Regions from separate parts of the Homo sapiens genome. Here region 2 is linked to region 1. The links are contacts of gene promoters, found by promoter capture Hi-C in blood cells and fetal thymus (Javierre and others, 2016). All regions are on one chromosome and are shown on one strand. Each heading gives the region's core, a stretch centred on a gene start or on the middle of the fragment in contact. The rest is flanking DNA. Distances are from core to core; before and after follow the strand shown. Region 1 holds the start of NFATC1 (nuclear factor of activated T cells 1). Region 2 overlaps NFATC1 (nuclear factor of activated T cells 1).

The links. Contacts are between HindIII fragments. The CHiCAGO score rates a contact against its expected background, and 5 or more counts as called.
Region 2: a fragment that was not itself captured here is called in contact with the fragment with the promoter of NFATC1 in region 1 in 1 of 17 cell types (non-activated CD4 T cells); the score reaches 5.4 in non-activated CD4 T cells.

The regions. Positions count from the first base shown.
Region 1 is chr18:79,392,454-79,398,994 of GRCh38, reverse strand. It overlaps NFATC1 (nuclear factor of activated T cells 1), which reads right to left and starts at 3,065. Exons shown (of 10, transcript NM_001278669.2): 1 at 2,644-3,065. The coding sequence starts at 2,770. RefSeq lists silencers at 2,370-2,469, 2,830-3,229, 4,655-4,944 and enhancers at 2,126-2,673, 4,315-4,434, 5,139-5,663, 5,664-6,189. The HindIII fragment of the contact is 8,960 bases long and covers 1-5,397 here.
Region 2 is chr18:79,433,983-79,440,753 of GRCh38, reverse strand. The region is part of intron 3 of NFATC1 (nuclear factor of activated T cells 1); the gene reads right to left. It overlaps LOC124904334 (a long non-coding RNA gene), which reads right to left. Exons shown (of 2, transcript XR_007066426.1): 1 at 1-6,771. Among named protein-coding and RNA genes, the nearest start is that of NFATC1, 41 kb to the right of the region's middle. The HindIII fragment of the contact is 1,308 bases long and covers 4,366-5,673 here.

The DNA of each region.
Region 1 (6,541 bases), core at 1,816-4,315:
TCCGAGTTCAAGCGATTCTCCTGCCTCAGCCTCCAGAGTAGCTGGGACTACAGGCACCCGCCACCACTCTCAGCTAATTTTTGTAGTTTTAGTAGAGACGGGGTTTCACCATGTTGACCAGGATGGTCTCGATCTCTTGACCTCGTGATCCGCTTGCCTCGGCCTCCCAAAGTGCTGGGATTACAGGCGTGAGCCGCGGCGCCCGGCCTGTACATTGTTTTTAAAACTCCAGCCACCTTTTTACCCCCACCATAAAATTATACACAAATGACAGCCCTTATCATCTGTTTAGACTAAAACTTTTTGCTAAACTGTCCCGCCTGCTGGTGGCCCCAGGCCGCGGGCCCTGCAGGGATGGAGGCTCACTGCTGCTGTCCTAGGACTGCACTGGTCTCCATCCCAGAGAAGGGGTCGGTGGGGCGGCTCCCCTGCTGCTCCTAGGAGCCCCCCCTTCCCCCGCCCCAGTGCTGGGCTTCCTTCCTGCAAATGGTTCAGAGCTATTGGTCCAGATTCAAAGCTGCCCGTTCCACAGACACTGGGTGTCTCCATGGAAATGTTTAGCTTGGACGCATCCTCCCAGAGGCTGGGGATGTCTGCGGAGACAGAAGCCCCGCTGGGTGTGATGAAGCGGGGTGCCAGCGCCCTGCCATTTTCTAATCTGAGCTGGGAAACAACGCTGTGAAGTTAAGTGGCAGAGAACAGGGTGAGCTTTGTTTGGCCCCAGCCCGTGGGGCATTGTGTCTGGAGCGACTTCTGACTGGGTGGCTACTTACAGGCCTGTACTTCTCTGCGTTCTCCATGAGGAAGCAAGCCCGGGGCCTTCAGGAACCACGACGCCTAATGAGCTTCCACCCAGATGGTCCCGAAACCCGAGGGACGCAGGGGAGGCGCCCAGGTCCTCAGATGGGCCAGGAATGGCCTCGTGGGGCCTACTCAGAAGGACTCAGAGTTCTTCCCGGTGGTCTCAGCGATGGCTGGTGTGGAAACCACGCGTGTCCCCATGCTGCCGGCCTGTGTGTATCAAGGACTAGATCACACTTTCCGGCTGGCCCAGTTCTGCAGCCCTCATAAAATACACCCATGTCGGTCGGGCGTCGCTGCCCGGCGCACTGCCTTGCAGCAGGGACCTTTTCGAGCTTATTTTCTTCAGTAGGAAACACGAAAACTAGCCACTGCCCCGTCGTGTTTTTTCCTTGCGTAAAAGAAAGGGGCTCCTTACTACAGGTCGGCCACCGGCTCTTCAGGTACAGAGATCTGAACTTGGAAAGACCTGCCTTTCTAAAGGGAGTGATAATGAACACTGCGGCGTAAGTGTCCCAGGATTTAAAACCGAAACTCCAACAAAAAAAAATTTTTTAAACTCTGCTACTAGCAAGAGCACATTGTGTAAAACACTGACACGGGACATGGTTTAAACATGTCAACATTTTCTAACATTGGGATGAAGTGGTGTCTACCTCCCGTCCCGTGAAGCGTCAGGGCACCGACCACACGGACCCCCCTCCGTGGAGCTCACGGCCCTGTGCTCAGCTCTGCTAAGACCAGCGAGTTTTCCAGAGCTGGGGGAGCCCGGTTCTCAAGCAAGCCCCGCAGTTATCAGGGTCGCGCAGGAAGCGGCAGCGCTCGGAAGGACGTCTGCCCTTATGAAGTACATATGTTGGCAGGTGTGCTGGCGCTCTTTAAATAAATTATATAAAATATTTCAGAGCTGGTAAGGAATTTGGAAAAGCGTCTTCCAATTTCCATTAGCATTGCAATCCCTAATCCCTAACTCGTATGCTCACACCTCTGCAAGGGTATTTTCAAAGCCACTTGCAGGAGCCCACCCGGCATCGCCAGGGGTGTGTGCCGGGGACGGGCTAAGGTGGGGGACTGGAATGTGAGATGCGCCGCAGGGGGGTCTCAGCGCCCCCCACACCGGGTTTCAGGGACCCACACTGTGCCATCTTTTTTTCACTATAAAGAAGCAGCTCGAAACTTGGCGGTTCCTTTTCAAACTTGCCTGAAACATCTTCTCTGGCTGGAACTCCTGCCTATAGGATTTCAAAATGGCTTAAATTCGGGGCTGTGCTGCGGCCGCGCTTTGGATCTTTTGGTCCTGCAGGTCCAGGAGCCGGCGTGACGGGCTCGGCCCTGGGGAATTCAGGGGCGCGGCGCGAGGGAGACGCCGCCACGAGCTCGGGGTGGGGGTGGGGGGCGCAGAACCCCCAAACCGCGATCTTGGCGCCAGAGGGTGGCTCTGCCTCGCTCAGGAAGACACGGGGCATCCTTCACTCCCAAGGAAGCCTCCCTTCCTCCCTCCCACGTGCCCTCTGTGGTCCTGACGGCCCAGCCTCGCCCGTCCCCAAATCGCCGGCCTGCGAGCCGCTTCCTCGGCGGGACCCGCGGCGGCCTCGCCTCGCGCCCTCAGCGCTGGGGCAGAGGAGACACCTATTGGCAGAAGGCGCGCTCGGAACCGGGCTGCTGGGAGCTGGGGGACGCCGTTCCCGGTCCGCGCCGCGCCCCTCCCTGGGCGCACAGACCCGGCCGACCTCGTTCTCTGGCCCGGACCCCTCCGTGCGGGCGACGGGGGCGGGGTCGGGGGGCGCGGCCCGGGCCGTGGGGGGCGCAGGGGTCCGGGGGCGGAGGCCGCGCGGGGCTTACCTTCCTCCGCTGACTTCATGGTGCCGCCGGCGCGCGGCGCGGGCCCCAAAGTTTCTCCTCTCCCGAAGACCGCAGCCGCAGGGCCAAGTGGAAACTTGGAAGGGACTGGAAAGCTGGTGCTTGGCATCCGCGCGGCGGCGGCGGGGAGTGGAGCGGCGGGCGGAGGCACAGGAGAAGCGGCCGCCCCGCGCTGCCGGGGTCGGGTCTCCGGGAAGACAGCCCTCGCCCCGGGCTCAGCGCCGCGCGCCCCGGAGGAAAGTCATCGAGGGGCGTGTGCGCGCGTGGCGGGGCCCGGCCGCGGCCCTAGGACCTGCGCGGTGGCTCCGAGCCCTGCCCGCGCCCCGGTGCCCGCGCCCTGCTGCTGGGATCTGGCGCGGCGACTCCGCCGGCGAGTTCGGAGCCTCTGAGTCTCGCTCTGACGCAGGGCCGCGCTCTGCCTCCTGCCTTTTTAAAGCTGGAAAACACCTCCCCCGCCTCCCCGCCGGCCCGGCGGCTCCCGCGCCCCCTCCCTGCCGTGACATCACGCCCCTGCTGCCCGGGCCCGCGCGGGGCCCCGGGGACGAGTCGCCGAGCGCCCGCCCCTCCCCGCGCCGCGGCAGCCGCTCGCCTGGGGGCAGGGGCGCAAGAGGCGGGGCGCGCACGGGGAGGGGGGGCGCACGGGGAGGGGGGGGCGCACGGGGAGGGGGGGCGCCCGGGGAGGGGGGCGCCCGGGGAGGGGGGGCGCACGGGGAGGGGGGCGCACGGGGAGGGGGGGCGCACGGGGAGGGGGGCGCACGGGGAGGGGCGCACGGGGAGGGGATGGGGGCGTAGGGGCGGGAACGGGGAATCCGGGGGCCGGGCAGGGGGGCGCTGGGGCTGGCGGGGGAAACGGGGGCGAACGGGCCAGACGGGACGCCTGAGTCCACGCGGGTGTCCGGAGGGAGCCCGGCCCTGCTGGAAAAGGGGCGGGGGGCGGGGGCCGGGGGCCGGGGAGGGGTGTCGAGAAAGCCCGGCATGCTGAAGTCATTATGTAAAATCGCAGGCTTCCCCCGCTGTGGAAATTTGGAAAAGCGCTTCACTGGCAGGCCCTAGAAAGGAAATTCCCATCCCGCTAAATTACTAACAGATTGCGTGGCCGTCCCGGGACGTCGAGTTATTGTCATTTTTATTCTGTAAATATCTGCTCGACCTAGACGGCCTGTGGCAGGGGCCGGCGTGGGGAGGCCCGGGGACGCGCTCACCTGCCCTAGCCGCCCGGAGGGGGCGTTTTATGGGCGCGACTGCGCGACTTCTGACGGGGGGAGGCCCCCCGGCCACTCACACTTTCCTCTCTTACGTCTCCCTGCGTCTCTTCGGGCGCAGCTCAGCTGCCAACACGGCACCGCATTTTCTTGTTGGCTTTGGATGGGGGGGGTTGGAGGTTAAAGTGTCTGGTGTGTAGAAACCATAAATCGATTGCACGACACCCTTATGTGATTTAAACTAAACCCAAAGGCTAAACTCGTGTCTGCTGCGGGGCCCAGGAGGTCCGCAGACCCCCAGGGATCACTGTGCCCCGTGGGTGCCCCCCACAAGCGCCTCCTCCCTGCCGGGGGAGGCGGTCGGGCGCTGCAGAGCCCGCGAAGGTGCGCGGCCAGAGCCCGTCCGTCCCGCGTCCCGAGGCCTGGCTCCATTCGGCCGCCCCGACTCAGCACAAATGGAACCCCGGCTTTTCCACCGCAGGCCTCGGCCTGGAGAGACGTGCCCGGATTAGCGGGGTGGTGGCCGCCTCGCTCCTGCGGCGTCGAGGCCATTTCCAGGGGTCTCTACCTGCGGGGGCCCCTACGGCGCCGAGCCAGGCGTGGCACGCGCCCCAGAGCACCGGGCGCCGGGAGGGGAGGAGGGGCCGCGGGAGGACGCCCAGGCCGGTGGGCGGGGGTCGGGGGGTCAGGGGGACTCCAGCGAGGCCGCGCCCCCACGCCCCTCCCCCTCCCCTCCCCTCCAAATCTTCCCGCCGCGAGTGTCCCCAGGCCTGGGGCCAGGATTTGGCGGGGAGAGTTTCCGTCCCCCCCGCCCCGCCCTCCTTCTCCCCACCTCCAGGACGGGGCGGGCGGAGACTCGCCGGGAGGAGGGAATCCCGAGGCCGGGTCTGGCGGGGCGCGCCCAGCCGGTCACGTGGGAGACTGAGCCCCTCGACCCCAGCCGCGGTCCTCGAGCCCGGGACCGACCTGGCGAGGCTGCCCTTGGCTCCTGAGGAGCCGGGGCCGGGGCGGGGGCGGCCGGCTCTTCCTCCTCCTCCCGCCCCTCCCCTTCCTCCGCTGCCGCCTCCTCCTCCTTCAATAAATAATTTTTTCACCCCATGCAGAAAAGCTCCCTTTTCCTGTCTGCTCTCAAAGCCGTCCTTATCCCCCCGCCCGGGTGACGGAATCCCGGGTCTGTTTCCCTCTGTTTAATGCCGTTGCCGGGACCACGGTGGCCGCGCGCCAGGCGCAGGGAGTTCCGGAGGCGGCGGCCCAGAGCGCGGCCAGCTCGCCCGGCCTCTGCGCCCCGGCCCGGCCTCTGCGGCCACCGCGGGCCCCCGGCTCTGCTCCCCGAGCGCCCTGCGCCCCTTTCCTCTTCCTCCTGCCTCCTCGTAGGTTTGTTTATAGCCGCTACTAGGGGAGACGTTACACGGGTTTTATTTTAGGATTGGTGATGACTAACAAAGTTAAAAGGAGCTTAGGACAGAAAACAAGACTATTTTTAGATGACTGTTGTTTCTATGGATTATTGGGGGCAAAGACACCCCTAGAAGCTTACCGTTTTAAAAGCCCCTTGGGGTGCCAAATCCCTTCTCCTGGAGCGCACTTGGGTGTTCATCCACCCCGTCCAATATTTTCTAGAGCCTGGGCGGTCACTGTTGCTGGGGCTTCCTGGCGTCATGTGTGAGCACCAGGGCTATGAGACGCCATCCTGGCAGATGCGGGCGTCTCCAGCGCGGGCCGGGCCGGAGCTGCCCCGAAGCTCAACGCTCCATCCCGTCCCGTCTTCGGAGGGTGGGTGCCACCTGCCCCGCGTGGGGCTTTCCATCCTCAGGGGCGCTCGGCACACGCGGTGCCGCGTGGGGCTACCTGGCAGGTGCGCCAGCCAGGGGCAGGTGCGCCCACCCTTTCCTCCCCCTACTGAACCGCAGGCCAGATGCCACTTCCTGCTCGGGAAAATCACTTAATACGACTGTGTTCTGTTCCTGCGAATGTTCTGTTCCTGCAGTTTTGCATTCTGGCCCACAGCGGTGGTCACTTGAGAGCTTTTCCCATCAGGGGTCTTTGAGGTTTTGACTCAACTCAGAATCCACCCCCTTCTTCCTGAGGCACCTTCCAACCAACAGGGAAGGGCCCCCACGATGTCCAGAGACTCTTGAGACCATCTGGAGAAATGGGCATTTATTTAGCCAGGGTCTGGAGACTAGGATTAAATTAGCAAACCAGAATTATAGAAAAAGCTATTTACTTTTAAGTAAACTGAGATTTTTTTTTTTAAGTCAGTGTGAATGAACCTCACAGCCATGGTTGGAGCTGAGAAAGAAGGATTTCCCTTTAGTTATACACCCGTGTCAGCACCTTCTGACTTTCCTTCTAAAGTCTGGGGTGTTCCTGAGGACCCATACATTTGGGGTTCAGAGTTTCTATACCATGCTGTTACTTATGAAACATCTCTTTAACCACGCCCCTTCCCTGGAGGGTTGCTAAGGGCTTCATAGGTTTCCCTGTCTAAACTCTTAGCATGAACACCCACCTCATGGACTACCACCATGTCTAAAAACTCAGATCACCAATGGATCAGTCAACTTTCCTACCCTAGACGTGTGTCCAGGGCATTAGGATCAAGGCCAAACTGCTCAGCACGGCACCTGATACCCTTCAGCCCCACGTCCCCTCCCGGAGTGGCCAGGCAGGAACCT
Region 2 (6,771 bases), core at 3,770-6,269, 40 kb before region 1:
CGGAGCTGTTCAGACACAGCAGGGCACAAACCTGGGAGGCTTCAGAAATGGCTGCCACCCTCAGCACTGGACAGTGCAGACAGTGGCCGCTCCTTCCCGGGAGAACCCAGCTGGGTCACAGCCCCAGGTCCTCGGAGAAACGGGCAGGGACCTGCCATGGCCAACACCACCCTCGGTCACTGGACACCTGCTGGGTGTGGCCCAGGGGCACCACGGTGTCTGCGGGGAAGCAGGGCCCATTGCTCAGGCAGCGAGGAAGGACCAGGCCCCACATGAGAGCTGCCAGGGCGCCGCCTCCCCACGGGGTGATTGCTGCTGCAGATGGCCGCTTCTCATGTGGTCTCCAGGTGACGTGTCCACTCCTCCTGTCCCACCTGCACCAAATGTGGGTTTTCTGAGGCTGGGATAGAGCATGTTCCAGTGGGCGTGCAGACCCCTCTCTACCTAGGAAAGCCTCCTGGGAGGCCCTTCTGCGCTATTAGGAGAGGTCACTAGCAACGGCCGTGCCAGAGCCCACGCGTCATCTTAAATTTTCCCAAAGCACCAAGAAGCCAAAGCTCTGAAATTACTAATAGAAGATTTTGGAGGCTGAGGATCTGGGCTTGGGGACACTCATGCGCCTCGTATTTCCTGTCTCAGCTGCACACCCCCACTCCAATGGCCAGGCCTGTCAGGAGACCCAGGCCACATTTTTGCCAGTTTTTCCAGGCAGTGGAGCTGTGGAACAGGTAGTTAGAAATCAGTGTCGCAGACCTGCCAGAGGCCACACGCCTTCCCCGTGCCAGTAAATCTCCACAAAATTCCACCCATTTTCTCAAATATTGTCATTACTGTTTTTAAGCAGTGACTGGCTGGGCCGACCTCATTCCACGTTGGTCTCCTGACACAGCGAATCTGCCCCGTGAACACCTTCCCAGCAGCACCGAGCATCTGTCCCCATCGCTCAAAACAGAGCCCGTGGGCTTTGCTTTAGGGGAGAAATAAATGGTGAATCCTCGTTCATCATAAAAGCTGACACGGGGAAGGCTCGGGCTTCAACACTGCACTTCTGAGAGTTCTTGCTCCTGGGAAAACAGACACAGCCCGACGGCAACCATGTGTGCTCTCCCAGCTGCATGGGCTGCGGGAACAACGGCGTATGTGGAACTAGGAAATTCCCTGTGCGTTTATGCGCTTAGCAGTCCAGGGAAGTGACGGTCATTCGCCCTGAAATTGTGCTGAAAGAGGAGAGGGCTGTTGTCTAGGTTCCAAGGCAGACTCATAAAAAATTAATCCGTGCCTCCTGCAGGCCTCCGGCATTTGGCAGCAGCGGTGCCGTGGCGTGTGGTTTTGTGGTCAGACCTGCACTTTAGTTTCCACCCCACGGCGTCCTCCCCGTGCGTGGGCCTCTGCGTGGCTCCTGGGGCGGGGCCGGAGCGGCTGCTGTTTGAGGTTCTGCAATAGCACAGCTCCTGGTGGGGCCTCGGAGCTCTGATCAGATAACAATGTGTCCCAGCGACGTCCCTCCCCGGCTTTCCAGTTTAACAGCCCTGCCTGGCAGGGGACATGGAGAACCAGGAGCTCCTGTGTGTGGCAAACCACTTAAGAAAGCGTGGATGAGGCCCTGCGTGGAACAGTGCGTGCTGTGGTAATCTGTCCACGGTATTCACGGGCTCTCAGGAACCTGCTCCTCACGGTACTGAACACTCCCCGAGCCCCTGCCAGCTGAAGGTACCACACAAAGTGAGAATTAGTCAGAACCACTGGCCCGACGCGCATTTTAACAACCGGAAAAGAAGAGCTGCCTCACGGGAGGCTCCACTCCTTGGTCTTCAGCTGTCAAGTTTCTTACATGACAGAAAAAACGTCTGTTACGGATCTGTGGAGGCAAAGTTGACCTACAAGCTGGGCAATGGAAGGAGAGGCCCACCAAGGCCACTGTGGGCACCAGCGGGCCCGCCCCACCCTGCGTCCTGAGCTTGGGGTATGGCCAGGAGCCCTCCCTGGGGCCAGTCTGGCCTCCTGACTCTGAGTCTTCGCCTGACCCGCCCGCCCCTCTCACCCGCGCGGCTGAGGCAGGATCCCAGACCACCCGCCCTCACCTCTTTGCAGACTCAGTTGGCCCTTCTCCTAACTGACAATATTATAAGCTGCAAACCTAAAATGCTGTTTCAGAACGGGCCGAGGCTTCTCGTTTCACATTCCAGTGACCTATTAATTATTCACACGAGCCCGGCCTCCCGTGTGATGGGTGAGATGCTATCGGGCAGGTTATTTTGGTGACTTGGTAAACAGACCTGAGTTATTTGACCCCTGGGTCAGAGGTCAGGCTATATCCCACAGAGGTCCACGTGCCCCCGTGGGATGGTGGGTGCCATGGAGGTGGAGGCCGAGGGCCGGGGACGTGCTGCAAAGACATCTTCTCAAGGCCCTGGGCCCTTCCCGGCCACCTCCGGGAGAGTGTAGCTGCCACGAGCAGTGGAGGACGCAGGCCAAGGACGGGTTGACTCATGTGAGGAACACATCTGGCGAGGGGGCTGCAGTCCACGGCAAAGAGAGCAGGAGGGAAGGAAGGAGGCACAACCAGAAACAGAGAGGAGGAAAGCAAGGCAGAGTGACCAGGGCGGGCACTGCTCACGCCGCTCAGCTCCTCCTCGGACGGAGCGGGGAGCCGGACTCCAGGTCTCCTCCGGGACCACAGTCCCCCAGATGGAGAACACGCAGGTGGAGGACCAGCCTCCACCTTCACGCCCAGAAAGGCAATGAGTTGCACGAAAAGGCCTCAATGGCTGTGCCCGGGTGCTTCTCCACCCTCCCTGGCCAGAGAAGGGGAAGAACACTGCCTGTCTCACCCCAGACCATCCTGATGCCGGCTGCCTACATACCGAGGTGAGCAGCGCTGAGGGCAGAGGCTGTGTGCGGATGAGGAGGTGAGACAAGGAGAAAAGCCAGCAGCCACCCAGAGCACTCGCGAACTCCTGGTTCCAGCTCCGTTGAGAGCAGAGCAGGCCCTCCAGGGTGAGGAGACTGTGTGTACAGAGAGACCCTCCCCCTCAGGCAGAGCCTGCCGTCAGGGCAGAGGGTGGAGGGCAGAGGGTGGCGGCTGCCCGAGGTGCCACCATCAGGACACTCAGTGTGAGCTGGGATTTGGGGGAAAGCTGAGGCCAGAGGGAAACATCCGCCACGCATCACTTTCATGCCTCACTGGAAATGCTGGTGAGAAGCAGACAGCAGGCGGACGCCCCCTCAGCCTCCCCTGCAACCAGCGGCCTGGCGAGGTCCCGGCATCGGCAGATCCAGACCGGCCCACCGAGAACTGGTGGCCAAGGTGCTGGAGCAGGGGCAGGAGGAGCCGGTGACAAGGGGGCTGTGTGGGCAGGAGCTGAGGCTGGCTGCGCTGCTGGTCACTCCCTGCCTGGCCAGAAGCCTCTGGGAGGCTCTGTCTGAGTCACTTGTTCTACCAGGGCAAGGTGAGTCCTAAGCAGGCGTCTTCATCTTTGGTTTCCCAGGAGCAGTGAGGCCCACGCCAGACCCCTCTCTCCACTATCCCCTCACACGCACAGGGGGCGGGACTGTCCTTACCCGCAGGCCCCACCCTGCAGAGGGGGCGCACCCATCACCATGGCCGAGGTCCCGCCAGACCCCGCAGGGACCACGTCCACCAGGGGCTGCCGGCCATCCTGAACCACCCAGACCCCCTCGCAGACGGCTCCAGGGCCCCGCTCTTCCAGGCTAAACCACGGCCCTGTTGCTTTGATGCTGGTGTTTTTAGCGCCGTGGCAGCCGTAATGGGGGTGGCCTCAGGGTGCGGACGGTGTGATCATGGCAATGTGGCCAGAAGAATAGGGGCTGGCCTGGGGTGGTCTCTCCCCGGCGTGGGAACAATGACATCCCCACAGAGACGGCAGGGGGCACGCTCAGTGCTCACTGGAGGGGGCTGGCCTCCTTCCCTCTGAAGGAAAGGCCCTAAATGGGAGAAGCCCCGGATGCCGGACCCCCTCACGCCCCTCAGCGCCCACAGGTACCCGGATGCCGGACCCCCTCACGCCCCTCAGCACCCACAAGTAAGAGCGAGCACCTATCCAGAGGAGCAAACACCCTTTCCTAACCCAGAGTCCATGCTCCGAATGCTTCCTGGAGAGAAGGTGCTGCGTTCTGCTCACGTGCTTCACTTCCCAACTGCGAAACACATGGGGATGGGGAGGACGGAGACAGCGGGCGTGGGAGGACGCGGACGCCGGGTGCGGGAGGACGGGGATACCGGGCGCGGGGGCACAGCGTGCCCCTGGCCGCGAGAGCTGACACCCACATCCCCCGGCCCCCCGCCACCCTCCAGGGCTCAGCTGCACTGCAGGAGACAGCGGGCTTTAATTTTCTGGACAAGCTTTTTGAGATGCAGCGGACAGACGATTCACAACGAAGAGAACAGCATTTCTCAAATGCAGGAAACTCCCGCGCCAGTTGTTCCCAACGGCTCCCAGTGGCTCTGACCAGCCGCCCGCAGCGCCCACTACCCACGGCCTCGTCCTCGCGCCCCCAGGCCAGTGCGATGAGCCTCGTTTCTGAAAAGCGGGAAAGGGGCCGCGTCAAAGGATGTACTAAAATAACCCGACGGCACCGAGGGCACGTCTGCGGTTACGAGGAGCTTCCACGGCAACTGAGAGCTTTCTATTCTCGTTTGTTTTTAAATTATGCACAAATTCTATTTTTATCCAATTTGTGGTCCACCAACTGAAAGAGAAAACTAACCCCCAAAACCCCCTCTTTTTAGCTGCTTTTACCTCACACTTGCAGAGACAGAAATCCACTCTGCCACAGATACATCACAAAACTCTTTAAATTACTAATTTCTACAAATGAGATATGCTGACAGCTCCTGACATTCTCCGTGCAGGGGACCGTTTTCTCCCGCGTTTCAATGGAAAGGGCTCCTTCTGTGGAAACGCAGAGCCAGCCTCTCCCGTGTCGCTGCTGCGCACACACGGGCCACTTGATTTGGAATAATTGTTGAGGGTACATTTTAAAGATATTTTTAATTACTGTTTCAAGTTTCCTGAGTCCTCCAGAACACCTGGATCCTCTCAGTGGCATCTGTATTGATAGATTTCTGCACCCTCAGCCCAAGACACCCAGATGGCAGAACCAGAGACGGGATTCCAGAAGATTCCAGAAGACGCAGGGAGAGTACCCAAGCACTGAGCTGTGTCCGCAGAGACGGGCGGCACCAGGCACCGGCGCTACTCACAGGCAGGTGAAAATACATCCATTAAAACCCAGGGCTGCCTGTAGTCCCAGCTACTCGGGAGGCTGAGGCAGGAGAATCACTTGAACCCAGGAGACAGAGGTTGCAGTGAGCTGAGATCACACCACTGCACTCCAGCCCGGGTGAGAGCGAGACTCCGTCTCAAAAAAAAAAAAAAAACAAACAAACCAAAAAACAAAACAAACAGAAACCTCAGAGCTCTCTCCACACTCATGGTCCTGCTTTACCCTCCAAGTAACAGCCTCGATTCCTACACCCGCCCCTCATCCAGATACAGTGAAAAGGGCGACGTCAGTGCCCCTCACCGACATAATTTACAGCAAATAGGGTGGACTGGGCCATTATTTCTCTATTGCTTTATTTCCACTCCTCCTTTCACAGCCTCGTTTCTTGTCCTATCTAATATCCTTCCCACTGAGCAATAACAAGCTTTCGGTCAGTAAAAACCGAGGCAGGGATGGGGAGGTGCAGGCCTGCAGTGACGGAGCGTGGTGCAGCGCTGTCTGACCTTTCCCACCTGGGAGGGTGGAGACTTTAAATGTCAAACGGGCCACTGTGCGCTCAGGTGTCTCCCGCATTTCCTTGCTTCAAGCACCAACGAGGGAGGTACTAATTGGCATCAAGCACACAGGCCACAAACATCACATTAACATCATCTGCAAGTGCTGGCGAAAACGCCTCACCCCAGCGCCCTGCCCGCTAATTCCCTGCCGCCGGCTGCTGCGTTGGCAAACAGCCATTTGTCCCTGCGGCCACCTTCTCTCCACTATTTATCTAAATGGAAGAAAATAAAAATACGAGGCACTCTGCTGAACACCCCTTCCGGCTTGCATCATTCCCTAAATAACGGGGCTGGGGCACCCGGTTTTTTGCTGTTGGGGTGTGCTCGGAAAACATCCTCTGTGCTGCCGCGTAGCCTGGAGCCCTGGGGCTGGACACACTTGCTGCTCTGTGGCTGCCAAAGCAGCAGATCTAGGGCCTGGGGCCTATAGCTGACGAGGTAACAGGTGGAACGAAGAAAATGCCAACACCCACGGCTACCCGGGATCCACATCAACACCTGGGGTGCAGAGGGAGCATGGCTCTGTGCAGACGCTGCCCGTCCCTGGCGCGGTCATTACACCCCTCCCTCGACAGCCTAACTCCACGTGGCTTTCCCGCAAGGTGTGAGGAAGGTGAGGAAGCCACACCACAGCCCGGGGGAGTCAGGCCCACCCCAGCAGGGACGCGGCTGCAGGGTTGCCAGGCCCAGGCCTACCCCGGCAGGGATGTGGCTGCCAGGCCCAGGCCCGCTCTGGAAGCCACTCCTCCTCTCCTCGGGGAGCACCTTGAGCCCTGGTGCCCCCCAGCACCCAAGCCCAGAGTATGGGATCCTGCAAGCCTGGGTGGGCCACAGAACCTGCATTTCTGAGGGTCCCCCACCAGGCGAGGCTGGTGCTGCTGGTGAGAACTCCTGCCTCCAAGTTCAGAGGCTTTAGAGAGGGGAGAATCAACCCCCAAAACATCCACACCACAGGCAGCATCCACGG